Linked DNA regions of Homo sapiens: region 1 is linked to region 2. The links are contacts of gene promoters, found by promoter capture Hi-C in blood cells and fetal thymus (Javierre and others, 2016). All regions are on one chromosome and are shown on one strand. Each heading gives the region's core, a stretch centred on a gene start or on the middle of the fragment in contact. The rest is flanking DNA. Distances are from core to core; before and after follow the strand shown. Region 1 has its middle 26 kb from the start of TRAF6. Region 2 holds the start of PRR5L (proline rich 5 like).

What was found. The method cuts DNA at HindIII sites, captures the fragments that hold promoters and counts their contacts. A CHiCAGO score of 5 or more calls a contact.
Region 1: a contact is called between a fragment that was not itself captured here and the fragment with the promoter of PRR5L in region 2, in 3 of 17 cell types (endothelial precursors, megakaryocytes and M0 macrophages). The highest score is 7.3, in endothelial precursors.

Annotation. Positions count from the first base shown.
Region 1 is chr11:36,534,288-36,539,130 of GRCh38, reverse strand. It overlaps a transcript of RAG1 not described here. Among named protein-coding and RNA genes, the nearest start is that of TRAF6, 26 kb to the right of the region's middle. The HindIII fragment of the contact is 228 bases long and covers 1,422-1,649 here.
Region 2 is chr11:36,294,957-36,299,533 of GRCh38, reverse strand. It overlaps PRR5L (proline rich 5 like), which reads right to left and starts at 3,246. Exons shown (of 9, transcript NM_001160167.2): 1 at 3,096-3,246. The HindIII fragment of the contact is 2,178 bases long and covers 1,693-3,870 here.

The DNA of each region.
Region 1 (4,843 bases), core at 286-2,785, 240 kb before region 2:
CCTTCTAAAAGCCTGATCTCTAAATACAATAACACTGGGGTTGGGCTTCAATGTGAGGGGTACACAAATGTGAGGGGTACACAATTCAATCCACAAGAGTCTCAATCCATTCATCAATTTTTGCAGAGAAAATTGCCTGGAAGAAAAACAGAAGAAAAAGACTGAGAAGTAAGGGGAGGGAGAAAAGAGAAAGTGCATTAATGATTGAATTGAGGCCTCTTCCTGAGCGACAGGACAGCCCCATGGACAGGTTCCAGCTTGGAGATGGGTGGGAAGGGAGGTGACCCTGATGAACTGGGCAGCCCAGAGCAAAAAGGCTTTGGAGCATGAAGCTGAATTGAAAATCCGCCTCAGATAAGAAGCTGTCACAAGTATTTGAGAAGCAGACTTCAAAGGCAAGAATAAAAATTTATTTCAGCCACGCATCACTGCACTAACCAAGAAATCAGCCAGAGGAAAAAAGGTTAAAGACTCCTCAAAAAACCGCTCGAAAACTTCACTGTGCCTTTTCGTAACTGCAGCTTTAGACGCATGTAAGATTTATGCTGAGTTCAATGAACATGTATTTGTTTTACCATCTAAAAGAAAATGCGTGAAACTAAAAGGAACCTGCAAAGTGTACAACAAACCAAAAACCTACCCCATTTGCTCTTATTCTTCCAAATAATAACCTATCGAATAGAGCAAGAACAATTTCAATGTGAGTTTGTTTGCTTTTGCATTTGGAAAGAAAGCTAGCATTGCCTTTTCTATATGTGGTAGATTTGGGCTTTACACCCAAGCAGGAGCTGCAGCTAGCATTTGGGACTGCAGCTGGCCCCTGGATGGCACCCTGAATGGTGATAGGAGAAATAGGCAGCATACTGTTCTTTAACACTACTAGCTCTACATAGAATTCTCCTCTTTCAAGGATCAGTAATAGAACAAAATCAATGTGATATCTATGAAGAAATTCTACAGTACAAGGAAAAACATTTTTAATGACCAAATACTTTAGTAGAAAAGGCTTTTCTAAAACAGAAGAAAAATTGCAACATTTTTACTTTTGTTCCTATAAGGACTTGCCTCCATTGAACAAGTAAGGGCCTTGGTAAGAAGATCAGCCAAGAAGAAAGTACAATGAAACTAACACCCAAGCAGAAGGGATAAAATAAATTTATGCTTTAAAAGACAATTTTACAACGTAATGCAGAAGACAAACTGGAGGAACGATCTAAGATTGCATAAGAAATGAATAAAGAGATGAAAATAATCAGGGAAAAAAATGGAGATAGATACTATAGGATAAGTGAAATGGTGAAAAGACATCCAAGAAATGGTGGGTGTTCCCCCAAAGATAACTGAATCAAATCAAATGAAATGTAATGCAATCATTATTCAAGATGTAATTAAAGTCAGTTTTCCAGAGCTAAAACAAAGCTTTAGCTTTTTAGGGCTTATCACCATACTCTCATAAAGATAATGATCAGAAATCTCCTCAAGGCATAAGTTATTAAAATTTTAAAATTTAAAGAATAACAAAGGATCTTGAAAAAATCTTTTTCAAAGAAAAATACTTACCTTTGAAGCACAAAGATAAGGAAGTATGATAATATAAAATGACTTTTCTATGCTATTTGATATTTTATTTGATTTCTTCTGTTTAAGCTTTACAGAGGTATAACTGATAGATTAAAAAAATATAAATTGATGCACAAAAATGTACACATTTGATGAGTTTTGACATGTATATACACCCATGATACCATCACCACAATCAAGACCCTAAATATGTTTATCACCTCCGAAAATTTTCTTATGTTCTTTTACATTTTGTTTTGTTTTGCTTTTGTGTGAAGAACACTTAACACGAGGCCTAAACATATTTATTTAAACATATTTTAAAGTGCACAATACCATATTGTTAACTATAGATACTAGGTTGTACAACAGATCTCTAGAACTTACTCATCTTACATAACTGAGGCTCAACAGGTATAAAGATTTTTTATTTCTACTAAAGTTAGGAAAATGATTTCTGCCTCTGAATTGTTTTATTGTTGTTGTTTGTTTTGTATTTAAAGTGAATATATTGGCCGGGCACGGTGGCTCACTCCTGTAATCCCAGCACTTTGGGAGGCCGAGGCAGGTGGATCACAAGGTCAGGAGATCGAGACCATCCTGGCTAACACGGTGAAACCCTGTCTCTACTAAAAATACAAAAAATTAGCCGGGCGTGGTGGCAGGCGCCTGTAGTCCCAGCTACTCGGGAGGCTGAGGCAGGAGAATGGGGTGAACCCGGGAGGCGGAGCTTGCAGTGAGCTGAGATCGTGCCACTGCACTCCAGCCTGGGCAACTGAGCAAGACTCCGTCTCAAAAAATAAATAAATACATAAGTAAATTTACTTTATATATGTAGTATAAATATAAAATTTTTATTTACTTTATAAAATATAAATATTTTATTTACTTTATATATCCTCATCCTTTCACCTACCTATGCTATTTTTCTTCTTATTTGTCTTTTAAAAAACTTTGAAGTATATTACACATACAAAATGTTTTTATGCACAGTACGATTAATGTTTATAAAGCAAATACCCATAGAACTACCACACAAATCAAGAAATAGTATCTTACCAGCATCTTAGATGCTCCTTTTTACTCACATCTTAAGAGTGAATGCTTCTTGGTTTTATTTTAGACTTTTAATACCTATAAATACCTCCCTAAGAGCAAGATTTTTGAAGTTTGTATAAATAAAAGAGCAATAAATTTTTTTTCTGGCTTCTTTCATTCAACATGATGGTTAAGATCCAGCCCATTTGTTGTGTATAGGTCTATTTTAGTTGGTTTCATTGCCATATTGTATTGTATAATATATCAAAATTTACTTAAGCATTTTACAGTGGGTAGCCATTTGAATTGTTTCCAGTTTTAACTAATAGTACTTCATTTCATTAGATTTTTTTAAGTTGTTTACAATTGGATTTGATGTTTTAATCCTATCCTTCCCTTGTAATAGGTGACTTCCATCCATTTATATTTCTTACTACAAATGATTCACTTGTTTCTATTTTTTATTACTTTAGCTTCCCTAAGAAGTGAAAGACTCACCTAGTTAACTCTGCAGGAAAGAAAGAGAACTTGATAGATATCCACCTGGTCTAGCAGATCTGAAAGAGATGAATGCCTGATAGAGACCAGAAACTAAATTATACATAATCCACAATGATGAGCTAACAATAATTATTTTTCATGGGTTAATGATATAGCATTGAAATATTTAAAACAAAAAAAAGACTATAAATGGACAGAAATTCACTTGTAATAAGAAAACACACTACTATGTAATAAATTATATGTGTGTATCTATTTATTTATTTTATTTATTTATTTATTTATTTGAGAGGGAGTCTTGCTCTGTTGCCCAGGCTGGAGTACAGTGGCTCTATCTTGGCTCACTGCAACATCCACCTCCCAGGTTCAAGTGAATTCTTCTGCCTCAGCCTCCTGAGTAGCTGGGATTACAGGCACACGCCACCATGCCTGGCTAATTTTTGAATTTTTAGTAAAGACAAAGTTTCACCATGTTGGCCAGGCTGGTCTCGAACTCCTGAGCTCAGGTGATTTGCCCACCTTGGCCACTCAAAATGCTGGGATTATCACATCTGGCCTATATGTGAGTATATATTTAAACAATGCATATATTATAATTAACATGTTGAACTTGAAATAGATATATCTCAGACTTTACATCCTATTTTTTAAAAATGCTGACAACTTCTTTCAGGAATCCATGGAATTGTTGAACTTGAAATAGATATATTTCAGACTTTACATCCTATTTTTAAAAAATGCCAACAACTTCTTTCAGGAATCCATGGAATATTTACAAAAATTGATCACATGATAGACCTTGATGCATTCCAAAATGACACAGAATCCATGGAATTGTTGAACTTGAAATATATATATTTCAGACTTTACACCCTATTTTTAAAAAATGCCAACAACTTCTTTCAGGAATCCATGGAATATTTACAAAAATTGATCACATGATAGACCTTGATACATTCCAAAATGACACAATTTTATGGAACAATCCTCCAGTCAAAATGTAATATAATGTAGTCAAAGGTAAAGAGAAAATTGTGATGATCTAAATGTTTTAAAACATAACCCTAAATGGCTATTAGATCAAAGAAAGAAGTAAAATTATAATTTTAGTCCATTTACAGGGCAACACTACCACATTAGAACTGGTAGGATACCCCAAAAGCCTTATGAAAATGTACATTGATAGACCTAAATGTATAAGTTTTTAAAATATAAATGAAATAGGCATACAACTGAAAATTTTTAAAGGCTTAAAAATTAAATAAATTTTAAAAAGGAAAGAAAAATGAAAGGAGAAAATAATTGTGGTAGACACATTGATTGCAAAACAGTCACAATTCTTCACCCTTCCCTACATCTTTTGCAATGTAACTTTGCACATCCTCTCAACAAGAAGTAGAATCTATTTCCCCACTCCTTGATTCTAGATTGGCCTTCTGACATGCTTTGGTCAATAAAATGTGGCAGAAGTGAGGATTGCCATGGCAGTGGAAAATATCCAGTATGGCAAATTGTACATCCTAAAGTGACACATGTGACTTCTGCTCACGTTTCACTGGGAAAACAAGTCATGTGACCACACCTAACTCCAAGGGGGCAGGACAGTACAGCCTTCCCATGGCCAGAAGGAAAACTAGAAATAATTGGTGAGCAAAACGGTGTTTATTATTGTATGAATAAGCTTTGTTTGTTTCTTGTTGCTTTCTTTTTCTCTTTCTCCACTAGAGCGTACTTTTCATGAAAG
Region 2 (4,577 bases), core at 1,997-4,496:
CTGTGACACTGAGGCCATCATGCAGGGCTGACAAAAGAAGTGGCACGAAACTGGTTTCCCTCTTAACTGACCATCTTCAGCCCACAAAGAAAGCTGGGTGAGAAGAACAGTTGGTGGTGTAGAGGAGGAATTTTGGAGAAAGCAATAGGAGCACTCCAAGTCCCAATTGCCCACTACCCACCCTCCAAGATTGGCCTCCAAGATGCTGTGTCCCTGGAGGTTGACTGTCACTGAGGGCTGATGTCTGAATCATGTCTGTGAATCCCAAAATACAAGAGAGATGGAGTGATCAGCTGGAGTGGAGAGAACGTGGTAGCTTTGGATTTCCTGGGATAATGAAACGAGCATTTTCCATAAGCCAGAGATGTACTGTGGCCAACCTCTGGGATGTGTAGGTCCTTCTGACAAGGACCACCAGGAGGAATGGAAATTTACCTTCAGAGAAAAGCTGACAGCACTTGTTGTGGCCTCAACTATCCTCCCAAAATTTATATGATGAAGCCCTAACCCCCAGGACCTTAGAATGTGACTGCATTTAGAAGCAGGACCTTTAAAAATGTGATTAAGTTAAAATGAACCCCTTAGGGTAGGCCTTAATCCTCTCTGACTGCTGTCCTTATAAGAAGAGGACATTTGCACATGCCAAGAGACACCAGGAATGCACACACAGAGGAAAGACCATGTGAGAACTCAGTGAGAAGGTGGCCATCCACAAGCCAAGGACAGAGACCTCAGGAGAAAACAAACCTTCCAACACCTTGATCTTGGACTTTTAACCTCCAGAACTGGGAGAAAATTAAGTTCTGTTGTTTAAGCCCGGGGCCCCCAACTCCCGGGCCATGGACCAGTACTGGTCTGTGGTCTGTTAGGAACCAGGCCACACAGCAGGGACAGAGAGAGCACGAAGCTTCATCCATATTTACAGCTGCTCCCAATCATTCACATTACCACCTGAGCTCCACCTCCTGTCAGATCAGCAGCAGCATTAGATTCTCATAGGAGCACAAACCCTATTGTGAACTGCGCATGTGAGGGGTCTAGTTTGCATGCTCCTTATGAGAATCTAATGCCTGATGATCTGTCACTGGTTCCCATCACCCCCATATGGGACTGTCTAATTGGAGGAAAACAAGTTTAGGGCTCCCACTGATTCTACACTGTGGTGAATTGTGTAATTATTTCATTATATATTACAATGTAATAATAATATAAATAAGGTTCTCAATAAATGTAATGCACTTGAATCATCCTGAAACCATCCCTACCCTGGTCTGTGGAAAAAAGTGTCATCTACAAAACTGGTCTCTGGTACCAAAAAAATTGGGGACTGCTGGTTTAAGCCCCTCAGTCTGTGATATTTTGTCATGGCAGTCCCAGCAAACTAATACGGCACTGCTTAGATGCCAGGGAACTAAGGAAGGAGTCTTATTAGGCAACCAGCTTCAAGGGACCAGCAACTCAGAGATCCCCAAAGATGAGAAATAATGGTGCTCTCTGAAGTATCCACAAGATTGTGCCTAGAGAGAAAGAACTAGGTTTACACACCCACCAGAACCTGCCACTGAAATGCCAGCTTGCCACAGCATTAACCAAGTACGGACTTCCAGCTCCTTTCCTGCCTCTTCTCTTTTCCCCTTCCCCCTGCCAGGAGTCAGAATCATCAGTAAGCCAGAGGAGAGAAGGATGGAAGCTTAACGTGGGAAATGAGAAGCCAACCACAGACCCCCTTTCCAAGCTGCAGGCCCCACTGGAGGAGGGAGAAAAGTCTCCACTGGGAACCAAATTCAAAGATCTGGCTGATTCCCTGGGACTGGACATCCCAATTGCTGAATGAGGCTGTGCTGGAACTAAAAGCGACTTAAGAACTTTTGATTCCTGAAGGGGGCCCATAAGAGTTGTGGACCTACCTTAATTTTCATCCCAGGGCAAGGGAAGAGGGAGGACCTGCTGAAAAAAATTAGGGACAATGATAGGCAAAAATAAAGTTTGCTTCCATAATATACCATGAGTCCTGTGTATTTGACGTATGTTCTCTTACATATGAGGCAACTTAGCCTGGTCTCTGGCCAAAAAAGAGATACCACTCATTGAGCAATTCTTACCCTTTCAAATTCCTTCACTGTCGTCATTGAGCAATTCCATCTTCTTCAAGCAAGACAAAAGCTGATGCCAATAGAAAAATCATTTAAAATAAACAAACGAAAAAATTCCTTAAGCTGTCAACTTGGGTGCAGATGTTCTATGAAGCCAGAAACTGAATGTCACCCTCTATACACCATGACCTAGAGAAGCAGAATAACTCCAGACCAGCAGGGCTGGGCGGGTCTAAGATTCCCATACTACTTAAGAGAAAACTGAATTCAAATCCAGGCTCTGCCATTTAACAACTGTGTGACCCCGGGTGAATGACTTAAATTATCCGTACTTCAATTTCCTCATCCATAAAATAGAGATCATAAAGTATCTATCTGATGAAATAGCTGCAAAACAGTTAGAATGCTGCCTGGCACAGGGCAAAGGACTCACAATACACATAGCTATCATCATATATCATTGCCTCTCAAAGTGAAATATTGTGATGACCTTGGTTTATTAGCAGGATGTTGTAAAAAAAAATGCTTTACAAGGGGCATGATGACGAAAAGCGCAGATTCTAGAACCCGACTCCCTGGGTTTGAAAGAAGCAAGAATCTGAGGCATGTTGTATAAGGGTTTGCTATCATTACTATTCATTCAATGAGAGACATACAGTAATAGGTATACATATGCAATACATAGAGAAAGAGCTTAGTACTAGCAGCTATTATTAAGGCAACAGCCACCTCAGTAAATCTACATGGGCCATGAAGACCCTGGTCACCCAGAGATATCAGAGGCACTGAACAGGGCCAGACAGACAGAGGGTATTTTTCTAACTGGGAGGCTGCTGAACTTGACCTCTGTTGCTTTTCATTATTTATTTAACAGCAGATGGTGGCTTTCAAGAAAATCGGATGTCTTGAAGCCAGAAACCCATCCTCCTTGGGCTGGATACTCAGCCATCCCCTGCAACCCCACCCCCTAGCCCCAAGCTCTCATTGTCTCTCTTGTGTTACCTGGTCTGGTTTCTTCTTCCAGGGCAGGTCCCACCTTGCTGGGGAGAGGTGAATGACCATGGCCTTCCAGCCTCCCGAGAAGGGGATGTTCCAACGGGCGCAGAGATCTCTGGGCCTGGCTTGCCACTCACTGACCTGGGGCCTGAAGACTGACAGAGAAGCAGGCAGAAAATATAAAAAGCTGATACCCCCTGCAGGAAATCATTGTTTAGCCCATTCCAGACTAAAAAAACAAGTGCAACATTGGAGAAAGGAGGGTAAAGTGTCATTCGGGGCCATTGTTACAGCGGCTGCTCTGTGTGGTGGGGAAACAAAGCAGGCCTGTGTATGTGAGGACAATGCTGTTGTGTTACTAGCTGCTTCTGTGTTACTCCTGGGGACAGGAGGATGAGAAACGAGGCCACAGTGTCTTCCCTGGTGGACTTCACTCATCATAGTAGCCAGGCCAATCAGAGCTGGGAGAGGAATTTTGGACATTTAGCCCATGGCATTATGTAATAAGGGTCAGGGGACGTGCCTTCAGGTGTGACCACCTGCCTCTTTGTTAGTCTTCTATACATGAGAGATCACAAATGTCCCTCTCCTTTTCTCTTACTTGCTTTCAGAAACTTACCCCAAGTTAGAGCTGAAAAGAATGAGACATATCATTTCTCTAAACACAAATGTCATCCACTTCAATGCCTAACTTTTGTGATGGGACATCTGGCTGGGACTAAACCTCAGCCATGCAGCACGTTAGCAGCAGTTGGCAAGACTAGATGAATATTATAAAGCTTGCACCCACTGAACCCCCATAATGAACCAGACACTAGGTCATGAGCAACCTTGCAAAATGACCTCATTCGCTCCTGACTTCAAATTCTGACTCTGCAACTATTACCCATGGACTGTGAGCAAGTGTTTTCTCTGGGTGTTAGTTTTCCCATCTGTAAACCGGGATTATGATTGGGTTCCTAGGAGGATTAAATGAATTAATATATGCAAAACTCTTAGAACAGTGGCTGGCCCATAAAAGTGATCAAGAACCACAAATCACAAATTAGATGCCCACATTACACCTGAAACTTGCTTGTACTCATGAGGAGATGGTATGGGGATGGCTGGAAAGCCAGGATCCCAAGTGTCTGTATTTAGCCCTGTTACCTACTATGGCCTAAGTTCACCCTGTTAGGTCCCTGAAGGAATTGGGCACTAATAAATATTCTCAAGTATGAGACAGGTGACAAATGTGTGGAGAGGGCCCACTGTGATGCAACAGTGTGTGGCGGGAACTGTGGGGATTTGAAAGCTCACACCAGTCTTCAGAGGGCAGCCAGGGCTCAGCCTCAGCCAAATACTGCAATGCAGAAAGGTGGAAACAGCATGGTTGGGCCTGCACATTTTTAAAGAAAAGCCAGAAGGCTGGATTTTTTATGTCGAGTTTTCCAATTTTGAAACACTGTGGACCAAACACAACATTGTTAATGCAATGTGAGCCCTAGA